Regions from separate parts of the Homo sapiens genome. Here region 2 is linked to region 1. The links are contacts of gene promoters, found by promoter capture Hi-C in blood cells and fetal thymus (Javierre and others, 2016). All regions are on one chromosome and are shown on one strand. Each heading gives the region's core, a stretch centred on a gene start or on the middle of the fragment in contact. The rest is flanking DNA. Distances are from core to core; before and after follow the strand shown.

Evidence for each region. The method cuts DNA at HindIII sites, captures the fragments that hold promoters and counts their contacts. A CHiCAGO score of 5 or more calls a contact.
Region 2: a contact is called between a fragment that was not itself captured here and the fragment with the promoter of APEX2 in region 1, in 1 of 17 cell types (M2 macrophages). The highest score is 5.5, in M2 macrophages.

Annotation. Positions count from the first base shown.
Region 1 is chrX:54,996,585-55,003,205 of GRCh38, forward strand. It overlaps APEX2 (apurinic/apyrimidinic endodeoxyribonuclease 2), which reads left to right and starts at 3,779. Exons shown (of 6, transcript NM_014481.4): 1 at 3,779-3,995; 2 at 4,962-5,045; 3 at 5,667-5,847; 4 at 6,378-6,524. The coding sequence starts at 3,839. It also overlaps a transcript of PFKFB1 not described here. RefSeq lists a silencer at 3,660-3,799. The HindIII fragment of the contact is 4,396 bases long and covers 99-4,494 here.
Region 2 is chrX:56,227,732-56,234,059 of GRCh38, forward strand. KLF8 (KLF transcription factor 8) reads left to right here and starts at 4,625. Exons shown (of 6, transcript NM_007250.5): 1 at 4,625-5,610. The coding sequence starts at 5,604. The HindIII fragment of the contact is 2,049 bases long and covers 704-2,752 here.

The DNA.
Region 1 (6,621 bases), core at 2,529-5,028:
GATTCCTCACTACTGTTACCAATTCTGATCCCAGAAGCAGGAGACCAAAACAAGCTTTATGGAAAGACCTCAGCTTGGCACTCAAGACTTTTCAATCAAGCTTCAGCCTATCTGTCCAGCCATATCTCTCCTTAGATCATCCTTAAACTGCACTGGCTGACTCACTGGGCCCCAAAATACATGGTGTATTTTCCTGTTTTTTGGCCTTTGCTCAGCCTGAAATGCCATTTTCCTCCTTCTATTCCCAACAAAATCTGATCCACTTTTCAAGGTCTGGTTTGATGTTCACTTCCTCTGGGAAGTGACCCCTGTATCCTTGGGACAGGCCTTGTATTTGGTTCTTATATTGCCCACATGCTCCTATCTGAGCAAGTATCCACCAGTATTTTCCTGGTCTGCTTCCCCACTAGACTGTGAACTCCTTGAGTATGGAGACTAGATCTCAGTGATCTGTAATTTGTGTTTCCAGTGTCCAACTCAGGCCCTGGCACAGAGGACAGAGAAGACACTTGCTTATTGTGTTTGTGCAGTCTACATCTCTCTGCCCTAGATGAGATGAACTTGTGGACAACTAATCCTAGTTCAACAAGGTAAATATTATAACAGAGAGCTGTGCAGGGAATTGGATGGGAGAACTAATTTGTCTGAGGTAGGAGGTGGCATCCAGAAAGGTTTCTCTACCTTGAATGGGACAGAAACAGATAAAAGAATGAAGTCCTCTCTGAAAAGGGCCAATGAACTCGTGGCAGAGAAAGGGTTCAGTCAGTACCAGATTCTCATTCAAGATCAAGCTCTGACCTGCAGCTCTTGGTCTAAAATTCTAAAATGGGGCTATCTCTAGGGAAGAAAAGATTACAATGTGATTTCCCAAGGCCCCCAGATCCTGACCCCATACCCCTCCCAAAGTATAGGGCATGTGTATCGGGGGAGAATACCATGTAAAGCAGCATATGACAGTGCTGATGGATAATAAAGTCACGAATGGGGTCTCCCTATTGGTAGCTCTCAGACTGTTTGGGTATGAATGCATTTGTGGAGAGTGAAGGTGTGAGGGGAGATCGACCACACACTTACAAGCTAGGTGCATGTATATGAGTGTCAGGCCTTCTGTGACAGCAGCCTAGGATCCCCTTCCTTCTCACCCACTGTCCTGGCCCACCATCTCTCCACTATTTTCGGCCTCATGCCTGGGCCCCAAACCTCACTGAATCCTAGTCATGGAAGTGGCTCTCCACAGACTATAGTCGCACAGCAGCTGGAGGGTTTTGGGTGGGATTGCTTGTGGAGCCTATAGAAAAAGCAAGATGACTACTCTTAGAGCGAGGAAGTCCTGAAATGTCTCCAAAGAGCTTTGGTTTCTGCCTTTCCACTCTTCTTGATCGTGACAGCCCTCTGAGGAACGTTGGCTAGAGACTTTGATTTCCATTTTACTGAGGAAGCTACTGATGCCCAGAGAAGCAAGAGAGCTTGTTCAAAGCGCCACAGCAAATCAACCCTACTTTACACATCAGTGGGGAGGTAAGAGCTATAATCTCAATCACTCAGTTCATTCAAAACCAGACTTGACCAAGTTAGAGAGACTTTCACAGGTGCTAGTGAATTGCCCTGGGGGCCAGTGTCCCATAAAGGCCAGAATGGACTTTTAAAAATATACAGACAGATAAATAGGTTACATATAGATATAATCTTTTCCCCCACTTTCCCATGCCCTTTAATGCACACGACAACCAACCATCTATGCAAAGAAAACTTTCCAGAGGGCCTGAAGAATGGATGTGGATTTGTGCAACTCCTGCCTACTTTCCCTTCTTTCTCACCTACCTTTTATTCTAGAGGTTTTTTCTTCCATCGCTAATTATCCAACACTCGGTTCTCTTGCATTTACAGACCCCCAAGGCAGGTCCAGTGGGTGGCATCAAAGAGGAAGCCTGGAGGTGTTCGTTGGTTCCCTGAGAAGGCTGAGGACGTACCCTTGTTAAGTGGGGGATGTATGTGCTCTGTTGAAATATCAGCTGTTGTAGTTGCCAAAGACGTTCCTGAGCCACCAGAAGCCTTTTCTCTTCAGTCCAACCATGTGTTCACCTTGCCCCAAAGGTCAGAACTAATATTAACAAGCCACTGCAGAATGGGGAAATTAAAACCAGCCATGGAGACAGGCAAGTTCTGGATTTCGCTGGTGCTGAGTTTCAGATCGATCTTCAGTGTAAATGGGCATAATCCCTTACTGGAAAGCAATCTGGCAATATGAAGCAAGAGCAATAAAAATGTTCATTTCCTTTGTCCTAGTTATCGCACTCATGGGAGTCAATCCTGAGTCAATAACTCCCAAAGCATGAAGAAGCTCAGGACATGCAAATTTTTATTTTAATCACAGAGCTATTTTCTGATAGCAACAACTGGTAACCTTTTAAGTCCTCCAGGAGGAAAAGCAGTTTACTGCGTCTTTGCTGTAACCATTGAGGATGATGGCTCTAAGACTTAAATTCTGGGGAACAAATAATTATGCTGCAATTCTGGGTGAGGAACCTAAAGATGCATCGTTATGCTTTTCCCTGGACATTGGGCATATCCATTACTTCTAATTTTTGTGCTCTCAAAAACAAGCCATGAACCTGTCGATGCTCTTGCTATTATCCTTTGTTCATTCATTCACCTGACAAATATCTATTGCTTCCCAACATATGCTGTGTCCAGTATTAGGGGATGGGGCTAACAAGATGAACCAGACATGGTCATTGCTCTCAAGTTGCTGGCATTCTAATGGCAGCAGAAATAGAAGTCAATGATAGCTGTGTATTATAAGTACTGTGACAGAATGGACCATAGGGTGCCGTGGGGCCCCAGAGGAAAAGACTTAACTGGGGAGGTGTGTGGTCAGTAAAAACACTCAGAAAAGTAATTATTGAGCTAATTAAGACAGGGTGTGAATCCTGGCTCTACTACTTCAGTGTAAGAGAGAGTGAACTGTGAGAATGAAATGAATTCATTCGACGTCTCTAACTTAGCCTCCATGTCCCGAACTGGGTTGTCTTGAGAATGAAATGAGATAACATATACAGAAGAGCCATGGATGCATCCGGAGACAATGCTGCTCACGAGCTTACATTTCCTGGGCTTCGATTTCACTTATCTGAGAAACAGAACCAAGAGTAAGGATGTGTCCGGCTACATCCTTCAGAATGTTAAGAGCCAAGACAAAAGCTACAGGGCAGGCTTGAGACAGCCTCCTCCTCCTCCCCTCTGCCCCAATAAAGCCAAAGGCCCTCCTCCTAAGTCTTATCTCAGTGGAGCGACTCTTACTGCTCCCTCCTCCAACCATGAACTTCCCTTTGCCCAGTCCAACGCGAGCACTTAGCGCCAGCTATTCCTGGGGCGCAAGCGCTGCAGCCATCTGTGAACTTAGGTGGGCGGTCCGCCGCACTGAGGGCGGGGCTTTGGCAGCTGAGCAGTTCCGCTCAGGGTTCCGTCGCTTAAAAAGTGGCAAAATGCCGTTTGTAAGTAACCGGACGCACCACTTGGACTTCTGAGTAGAGGAAAAACGCATTGAGACTCAGCTGTCCGAGCGGAAGGAGCGGGAGCCCAACTGGAAACTCCTCTCGCCATTCATTGCCCCTAGGCTTCCGCTTTGCTTCCTTCAGCGTCCACCCAGTTCCTCCTCCCGCCAATGAGAGCTGAGGAAGTTGAAGCCCCCGCCCGACGTGCGTCAGGCGCTTTAGTGGTACGCACGAGAACGCCTGCGCAAACGCGCGCGGGAGGCGGGCCTGGCCAACTTCTGAACAGGAAGCAGTTCGCTCGCGCCTAGGTTGGCGCGGGCTGGGAGGTGTTCCAGCCCTTTAAGATGTTGCGCGTGGTGAGCTGGAACATCAATGGGATTCGGAGACCCCTGCAAGGGGTGGCAAATCAGGAACCCAGCAACTGTGCCGCCGTGGCCGTGGGGCGCATTTTGGACGAGCTGGATGCGGATATCGTCTGTCTCCAGGAAACCAAAGTGACCAGTGAGCGCTCTGGATTCCAGGATCCCTACATACTTTTTCTTTCCCGCTAACTTTTGTCCCCTGTCCCATGTAATTTTACTTTCCCAGTTTCCTATTCTTAGAGTCCTGTCCTTAGACCCAGGTCCCTTCCCTCTTAAACTTCCATTTCCCACCCTAGCTAGATCCCCTAATTGCACTCCATCTCCTGTCTTCAGCAAACTTTAGCTCCTTCTCGAAACCCCATATCTAGTCAGATTCCCACTCATTCTCCGGCCCCAAACTCAGTCCCCTGAATTTCCTCCTTCCATACGCTGTCCATCTCCCCGCCGCCAAGTCAAACCCCCGAATTCTTCATCCCTGCCCCAAGCTCAGATCCTCTAATTCCCACCCCATCTTTGACCCCAGCTCAGTCTAATTTCCTCTTTTTCACATTTCCACCTCAGAACCCCAGTACCCCTTATCTATTCCCATCTCTCCTCCCAGCGGAAAGTCCCTAATTCCCACCTCATTTCCCACCCCAAGCTTAGATGTCCTCTTATTTCTTCACCCTCTTATCTCCCCTCAGAATCCCCTAATTCCTTTTCCCTCCACCCCCAGTTCAGATCCCCTAATTCCCTCTCTCTTACCTCTCACCCTTAGCTCAGATTCCCACCATCCTCTCGTATGTCCATCCCCATCCCCAGCTTCCTCCTATCGTTCAGACCCCCAGGCTTAGCTCTGATTCTTTCCCCTTCCCACCTAATTCTCCACCTCCACTTCATAGTCTCTAACCGCCCCCCACCAAGCCTTCTAATTCTGATATCAATTTCCTCTCTGACATTTCCCATCTTTCTAGGTCCTCCTCTAATCATGGATATTTCATTCCCGTCACCCCCAACTCTGGCTCTGATGTGTGCAAGGAATTAGCCTACAACTGTAATTCCAGGCCTTTGTGTTTCTCGGATGCTAGTTTTACCTCTGACTTAATCTTACATTTTTTTTTTCCAGGGGATGCACTGACAGAGCCCCTGGCTATCGTTGAGGGTTATAACTCCTATTTCAGCTTCAGCCGCAACCGTAGCGGCTATTCTGGTAAATGGGGCTTTCTGTGGACTTTAAATTAGTGAGGGAGGCAGATAGGGGAAAAGGGTTTCCAATATTTGATGAGAGGGTAATAAGAAATCTTAGACATTTAGTTTACAGAGCTAAAGCTGCATAATAGTAAATTACATGAAATATAATTTTTATGGATAGAATTATCCTACTGGACCTCAGAAGTACAGTAGTAGTGTGGTGCTTAATTGTGTGAACTGTGGAGCCAGACAGCCTGGGTTTGAATCATGGCTCATTTCCTAGCTGTGCACCCTCTGGCAAGTTACATTACCTCTTGGTGCCTCAGGTTCCTCAGCTAGAAAATGAGGATAATGTTTACCTTCCGGGGCTGTTACAAGGATTAAATGAATTAATCCATGTGATAATAATAATTGCTAATACGTCTTGAGCACTCACCATGTATCAATGTAAAACACTTAGAACATTCTGTGGCTTTTTTAGATGTAGGAACTGAGACTCCAGGGTTTGAATAAGGTTGCCCAAGAACCACACTTTATGAAGATGACTTAGATGACTTGTGTGGGGACAATTGGAGTGGGACAGGCTGTGCAACAGGCTATTGACTGCCAGGTCTGCTCAGAGTGCCCTGTCTGTTCCCAGGTGTAGCCACCTTCTGTAAGGACAATGCTACCCCAGTGGCTGCTGAAGAAGGCCTGAGTGGCCTGTTTGCCACCCAGAATGGGGATGTTGGTTGCTATGGAAACATGGATGAGTTTACCCAAGAGGAACTCCGGGCTCTGGATAGTGAGGGCAGGGCCCTCCTCACACAGCATAAGATCCGGTAATAGCTCATATCTCCCTGCTACTGAGCACTGCTGGTGCTACTCTTTGAGTGTGAAGATTCTAAGGCTTGCCATGTAAACATACATGCACCGTGGAGAAGTTCCCAAATTTGCCTTTCCTGGTTTAGTCCTGGCTGGGCTACTCAGTGTGTGACCCTGGCAAATTTTTCCCCCCTCTGAAGCTTGAGTTTCCATCTCTACAATGTGGGGCTGGCCTAGTGATCCAGCTCTTATTACCATAGACATCTCAAAAGCAACTTAGTGCTGAACTCAGTGCCCCAGGTTGCTGTCTTTCTGGGTGTTCTGTGTGAATAGCAGCACCATTACCTGGTGGTAATCCTTAGATATCCCTCTCCCTGCCTTATCAGTAGTCAGTCCCCAAGTCCTGTGCATGCCAGATCATTTGTGTCTCTTTAACCCCTTTCTTTTCCATCCCAGACAGTCACAAAATGGAAGCCATGTGGTATGGGGAAGGGACAGAAGGGGAGGTTTGAAACTGACCCCTTTTGGGGGTTTCTCTTTTCTCCAGCACATGGGAAGGTAAGGAGAAGACCTTGACCCTAATCAACGTGTACTGCCCCCATGCGGACCCTGGGAGGCCTGAGCGGCTAGTCTTTAAGATGCGCTTCTATCGTTTGCTGCAAATCCGAGCAGAAGCCCTCCTGGCGGCAGGCAGGTACTGCAAGCCTGGGCAGTAAGGCTTCCTTGAGTTGGTCCTGGGTGCCCAGCCCTGTGTCAAGCTCCATTGAAAGGGATATGGACCCTTTGTCTCT
Region 2 (6,328 bases), core at 478-2,977, 1.2 Mb after region 1:
TCTGCAGGTGCAGTTTTTCTGGTTTGACTTGATTGTTGATTATAAAGTCTCTTCCCTCTTCCCTCCTCCAATTTATGGGTGTGGTGGTATCTAGGGTCTAAAATGGAGTTAAAAACCCATACATACTCAACCCCCTAGCCCCAACACACACACACACACACACACACACACACACACACACACACACCTAGTCAAGCTCCTTGCTCATAAAGATAGCAGCCTGAGGCACAACTAAATTTATAGGACTCAGCAGGCCTGCTAGAGCTTGTCTGGGATGGTGCGGTGCCAGAATTTCAAACCCTGGCCACATGTTTCTGGCCCATTGGCCATTCCTAAACCAAATTTAATCATGCCTCTGAATGTCTCAAGCAAGCAGTTTAGTTGCTGATTTTTATAAACTGGTTTATTTATACATACAGTGGCAAGGGTTATGGGGAACACAGGAGCATGTTCTCAATATCTATGACCAGAAAGAGACTCAACCTAAAGCTGGTAGTTTTCACAGTTGCCATTGCTATGAATATTAGTTAACCTTTATTGAGAGCTTTCTTTGTGCCAGACACTGTGCTTTGTAGGCTATAATCTCATTGGCGGCCAATCTAGGTTTTGTGGGGCTGGAAGCTTATACCACTTTGGGGACCATCTTTAAGAAAAACACAATGTTTGATCCCTTCTGGAGTCTTGGAAAGGGGCGTAAAGCTTAAGCTTCATTAATTTTACTGTAAAGCCACCTCTGCATCTTATTTAATCTTTTTGACAATTCTGTGAAGTAATATCTTTAAAAGAAATAGGTGAGGAAATGTTTAGAGATGTGAAGGCACTTGCCCAGGGTTGCACAGTTTGCAATCTAAATCATTGTTTTATCCCCGCAATCTCCTTCCAGGCTTTCTTCTCTCAGCTAACTAGATTTCCTTCTCCAAAATATCTTTATCCTTTGCTGGCAGTAACCTTAGTGCTGTCCTCTGGGACATGTGAGGAACTTAACACTGGTTCAACATTAGCGGAGGGGCAAAAGGTCTCCTTCTAGCTGAGCTCGCAGAAGGAATATGCTCTCTGGGGAACTGTGGAATAAGAAGAAAAGTGGGTGAGGAGGACAATTTTGTTCCCACTAGGTCTGAACTATGCCCTGGTTTTAGCTACATTTTTGTTGTTCCACAAACAACAGTGATTTAATGAATGCAGATTTTTCTGTTTGTATATTGCTTGACTTCCCTTTCATTCCCCAGCCCAGCTTTACCCAGCTGAGGTCCTAACTCCCCTCCCATCTACCCACCCTTCCTCACTTTGCCCTATTCTGCCCCACCTTCCTGTCAGGCCCAGCTTCTCAAGCCTTCTTTTTTTTATTGTTGTTGTTCTACTGGGAGCAGAGAGGGTGGAGTCCTCTTACTGAGGCTTTTCCTCCTCCCTTCCCTCCAGCCCTCAGACTGGGCTCCACCCTGGTAGTTTGTCAGCTGGCTTTCAGGAGGAGGAGAAGCGGGATGATGAAGAGGAGAAAGAGAAGAAGGGAAGAACAGCATATGTGGGCCCAGAATCGTGTCTGCATATTTCTCAGCTGCTTTTCATTAGGTTCCACACTTAATTTAACACTCCTCATCTGATTACTTGGATATATAGAGGAAAGCACAGGCTGCTTCTTCAAGCAGTCTCCCTCACGCATAAGGTGGGATGGAAGGAGTTGAAAATATCGCAGGTTGCTATTTGGTTCATGTTTATTCTAGCCAGCTAAAGAAAGGAGAGCCTGAGGTGTTTCCTAGACGGACAGGGAAATTTATCAAAACTTCTAGTTCCCCATACCTGCTCCCTCACACCCTTTCGTGTGACATAGACAACACCAACCACATGCTGATTATTTCTATGTGTCAAGAGTAAAAGAATATAAAGGCAAACTCCTGCCTTTGACATTAACTGTGGTCATGGGTTTCATAGTTCCCTGTGAACCATCTTTGGGTCCTAATTTGAGTGAGACAGAGGCCATCTCTAAAGGACTTGAAGGGGAAATGTGGACTAATAGGCTGTGTGCGTACAGTGAAATTGAGGGTTCATCCACTGGAGCCTCTTAGAATGGATGTTCTCATTCCACCGCCCCCCAACACCTAGCATTGTTCTTGATAAAGCACAGGTGCTCAATACATTTTATTGACTGAATAGATGAAAGAACAGATGGGAAAGGATCTTGGGTTTGTTTTTCCAAGTTTCAATAACTTCAAGTTTTCCAAAAACTGAATTTGCCATCTAAGGTCTAAGTTTTCCCCACAAATAAAGTTGAGGCAGTATTTCTAAAACAAACAAAAAGCTAGAGCTTAAAATAAATTTGTCAACAATAAAGACTTTTAATAAAATATAAACTGTTAAGCTATCTGTGTATGGATCGACCTTCTTGAAAAGCTATTTCAGACTGAAAAAGTAACTCGATGACCTTAAGGCACACCCACTGTATTCAGGGCTAGTAGTGGCTACTCTTTTCAAAATGTTACTTCAGCAATCTACTCATTTTCATCTGCACATCACAAAAATGCATTTATTATTGATATAAACTGCTTAATGTCTTTCACACACTTGAATCTAAGAGAAAACTTTTCAGCATTGCTCAAAACAGTGCTGTAGTGGTAAGAATCCTATATTGGATAATACTCCCCAAATTTTATACATTGAGAAACAAAGCCTCCAAGGAATAAAGTAAATTTTTTAAATGAAGGCATAGAGAGTTGTACACTTCTCTGTATGATTCCATCTCAATATATCTTACCTTGTAAGCTTGGCAGGGGTGCAGGTCGTGGTGAAGAGATATAGTGAGATAGAGAGTTATTTATGAAACCCCTACTACAGGGACATTCTTTTATGAAACAAATACATATGCATGTGTATTTATTTAACCTGTCACTAAGTTTCCACATCTGTAAAATGGGGATAGCAATGTCTACCCATAGGATTGTCAGAAGGATTCAATGAGTTAATATACATAAGAGGCTTACAACAGAGTTTAGTACATAGTTAATGCTCAATAACTATTATTATTGTTAATAATAATATAACTTGGCATCCAAGTTACAGAAATGAGATCGCCTGGTGCTTCAGCTCAAGGACTTTATAGTTTAGTAGGGGGAGGCAATTATACCAACAAATATGTGCCCCGAGGTAGAGAAGGGCACAGAGGAAGCAATGGTCAGTTTTGCCTGAAGAAATTAAGTAAGGAGGGGAGATGACCTTGAGTTAGTCCTTTCAAGAAAGTGGACAGATTCATTGGAAGGACATGCAAGAAAAAAAAAGGTGGACAGAGAGCTTAGTCTATTTCAGTCAGAGAAAGTAAAGCAACCCAAGGCATAGAGATTGGAAACAGCTTGGAATTCCCAGGGATTTGTAATCCAGGTAAAGCCCAGGAGAACAGCAAAATCTCTGCTGCTTGAGAGGCAGACAAAGGCCAGATCACAGCAGGTTAAAGGATGAGTTCCAGGGTGCTGCCTTGGATGTATGGTGGTGCCATTCAGGTAGTTGGTGAACTACAGGAGGAAGAACAGAGTGTTTTGGGGAAAGGAAGGTAGATGAGATGCACAGAAGACATTCAGGCAGAAATATCAACTAAGTAAGTAGACCTATGTGTTCGAAAGTACTGGGCTGAGGCCTTCCGTTTCCTTATTTTTTTAAATAAAGGGCACAGAGAATATAACAGTACCTAGTTCCCAGGGTTGTTATTGGGACTAAATGGGGAAATGTTGAATGTAAAAGCACCTGGCTCAGGGACTTGCCCATATTAGGTGCTGAATACATGGCAGATATTATTATTTCTCCTGTCTCTTTGCTCTTCCTCCCTCTGCTTTGTTTCTTGTCTCTCTTCTTTTTCCTCCTCTTTAAAAGAATTGTGGTAGGGAAGAGGCACTGAAAATGGGCTGTGGTTGCTTGTGACTTCCTGGCCTCCCATTAAAATGAGCTAGAGAGAGACTTTCAGGCAAGCGTAAAGAAATCCTGGAAACATGGCTCCTATCCTGTGGATTCAGCTTTACGGGGATCTTCGCCAATGCCTGGCTGAGAGGCGGTCTCAGGGGGTTGAGAACTCTATTCTTAGAGGTCTGGTATCTGGGAGACTGAGAAAGCCTTTCTTAAGTCTCCCTGCTGGGCCACGCTGTATTCACAGATCATCTTCAACTCCTTCTTCTTCCCCACCTACTCCTTCGCCCTCACCTCCTTGGCTTATCTCTTGCTAGAAAATGCACCAAGCTCCAATCTCCGTTCCTTTTAGCTTCCTCCCTGAGAAGACACTGTGACCTCGCTGTCCTTGTTCGTGTTACCATGGAGAGGTAGGAGGATAAATATCGCTTCCAGTTGTCAGCTTTTTTGTTTTCTCCTTTCCCTCTTAGACAGCCCCCAGCCCCAATCCCAGTACCCGTTTCACCACCCTCCCCTGGAGAATTAGCATAACCGGAGTAAATAGGTAATCAAGCAGTGTGCTTGCAAGCCTTAATTTTGGGACAGATAAGGAAGTGAAATTGATTGGAATTATACCTGCCGCTGCTGGAGGCTGAGGGAGGCGGCCGCCGGAGGCGAGGCCAGCTCTGTCGGCCCAGGGCCCCGCCCCACCCCCTCCTTCCTCCCTCCTCCTTCTCAGCCCCACCCTTCTCCACCTCCTCCCACTTTGCACTCTCCTCTAGCGGCCGCCTGTCCTTTTTAAGGAACTCCACCCTAGGTGGAGTCCTCACGATAGTCACACCTCTCCTTTGGGCCTAGCAGGGCCAGAGAAAGACGGAATCACTCTACCCACTCAGGTTGCCCAGAGAGCACTTTAGGTTCTGACTCGCGTGGGGCGCGAGGTACCCCGTGGGGCAGCTAGGTGCCTCCAAGAAACCCCGCCCCAGAGGACCCGCACGAGTTGCTGCCATTTTTCGCTGAAGCCCCTGCCCTGGGGCTGGTGTTCTTCTCTATGATTCTACCAATCGTCGGCATTTTTTTCCTCCCTTCTTTCTTTTTAGGAAGGCGCTGGGGTGTGCGGCGGCAACGGCGGCGGTGAAGGGATCCTCTTGTGGTATCTCCTCGTGGGTTCCTGTCTTGAAGGATTTCTTCTCCGCCTCAACTTTATGTTCAAGTAGCGCTTTGGGGGTTGGGTTGGTTTTCATAGCCCCCACCCCCGGCCCTCTCCTTTTAAAGGGTGTGTGGAGTTCAGAGGATGGGTGGAGAGCGGGCTTGGCCGGAACTGAATTGGTAGAGGTAAAAGGGGAACGGAGGACCTTAAGCTCTGGCCACTTCGGCCCAGCGAACCCACTTTATTTTTGTCCAAGGAAAAGCTGCAGGGGGGAGGATTCTTTTTAGGAAGTCTACTCTGCCGGCCCCTGATTTTTGGGTTGGATGCTTGAGAGCTTTGTTTCCCTTGTTCCGAGAGTGGCCCAGCTGGGTCTGAATCGACTCCCTCCCCTTTCGACCCCCTCCTCATTTTCCAGCCCGGAGAAATAGGGGAGTGGGGGCCCAAGAACGAGAAGACGAGAACGCGTCGCCCTGCGCTATGTCAGAATGGGGCGGGTGTGAGGGGAACAGCTCTCTTGCGATCAGCTCAGGAGTATGAGCCTCCCGGAGGACGGCATGAGTTCTGGACACTTCAGGAGTCCTCAGCTAGTGACATGGTCGGTAAGTGACTCTGGGACTAATACCCACCCACTCCCACCTCTTTCGTCTAGATTCTATCCCCCTCCCAGTCCCCCTGCTCCCCCCACACACCCCACTTGGGGTTTCAGCAGTGGGGGCGGGAGCGGAAGGTTAAGAACACTATGTGGAATCAAATGAAACTCAAGGGAAAATGACTTTGCTAAAGGGCTGGGCAAAGAAAGGCCAAGAAGGAGAGGAGAGAGCTTGGTGGAAGAAGTGAAAGGGGGCAAGAATGGATGGATTTGTCTAGTCTAGTCTCCCCTGGCTCGGCACTCCCAATACTCCTTAAGCGGTAAGGATTGTCTTTGACTTAACCCCACACAGCCAAAGTCACAACCAGAGAGAACAGGATTCACAAGGCCAAAGCTCCCAGGTAACCCCCTGAAGCCATAGCGGGTACCTAGAGAAGCTTCTGAAAAGAAGGAGGAGGGGACAGTGGTTTAAGGTGCAAAGTTAGGCTATTGGAGGCACAGAGTGAGGCCTGGAAGCAGCTGCGGGGGAGGAGCTGCTTTGGGCGTGCCAGCTCTTTAAGGAGGGGCTGAGCTTGGTTGGAGAAGGAAGCCAGAGCCTAGGCTCTGCTCCGGCCCTTTAAGACGTGGCCAAGGCAGTTGGTTCGTCTGTGTAGGTGGAAGACTGACTGGGCCGAGTTGCTGTGATTGCTGAAGTGAATCCATTTGTTTAGCCACTTGGCGGAGCTGTC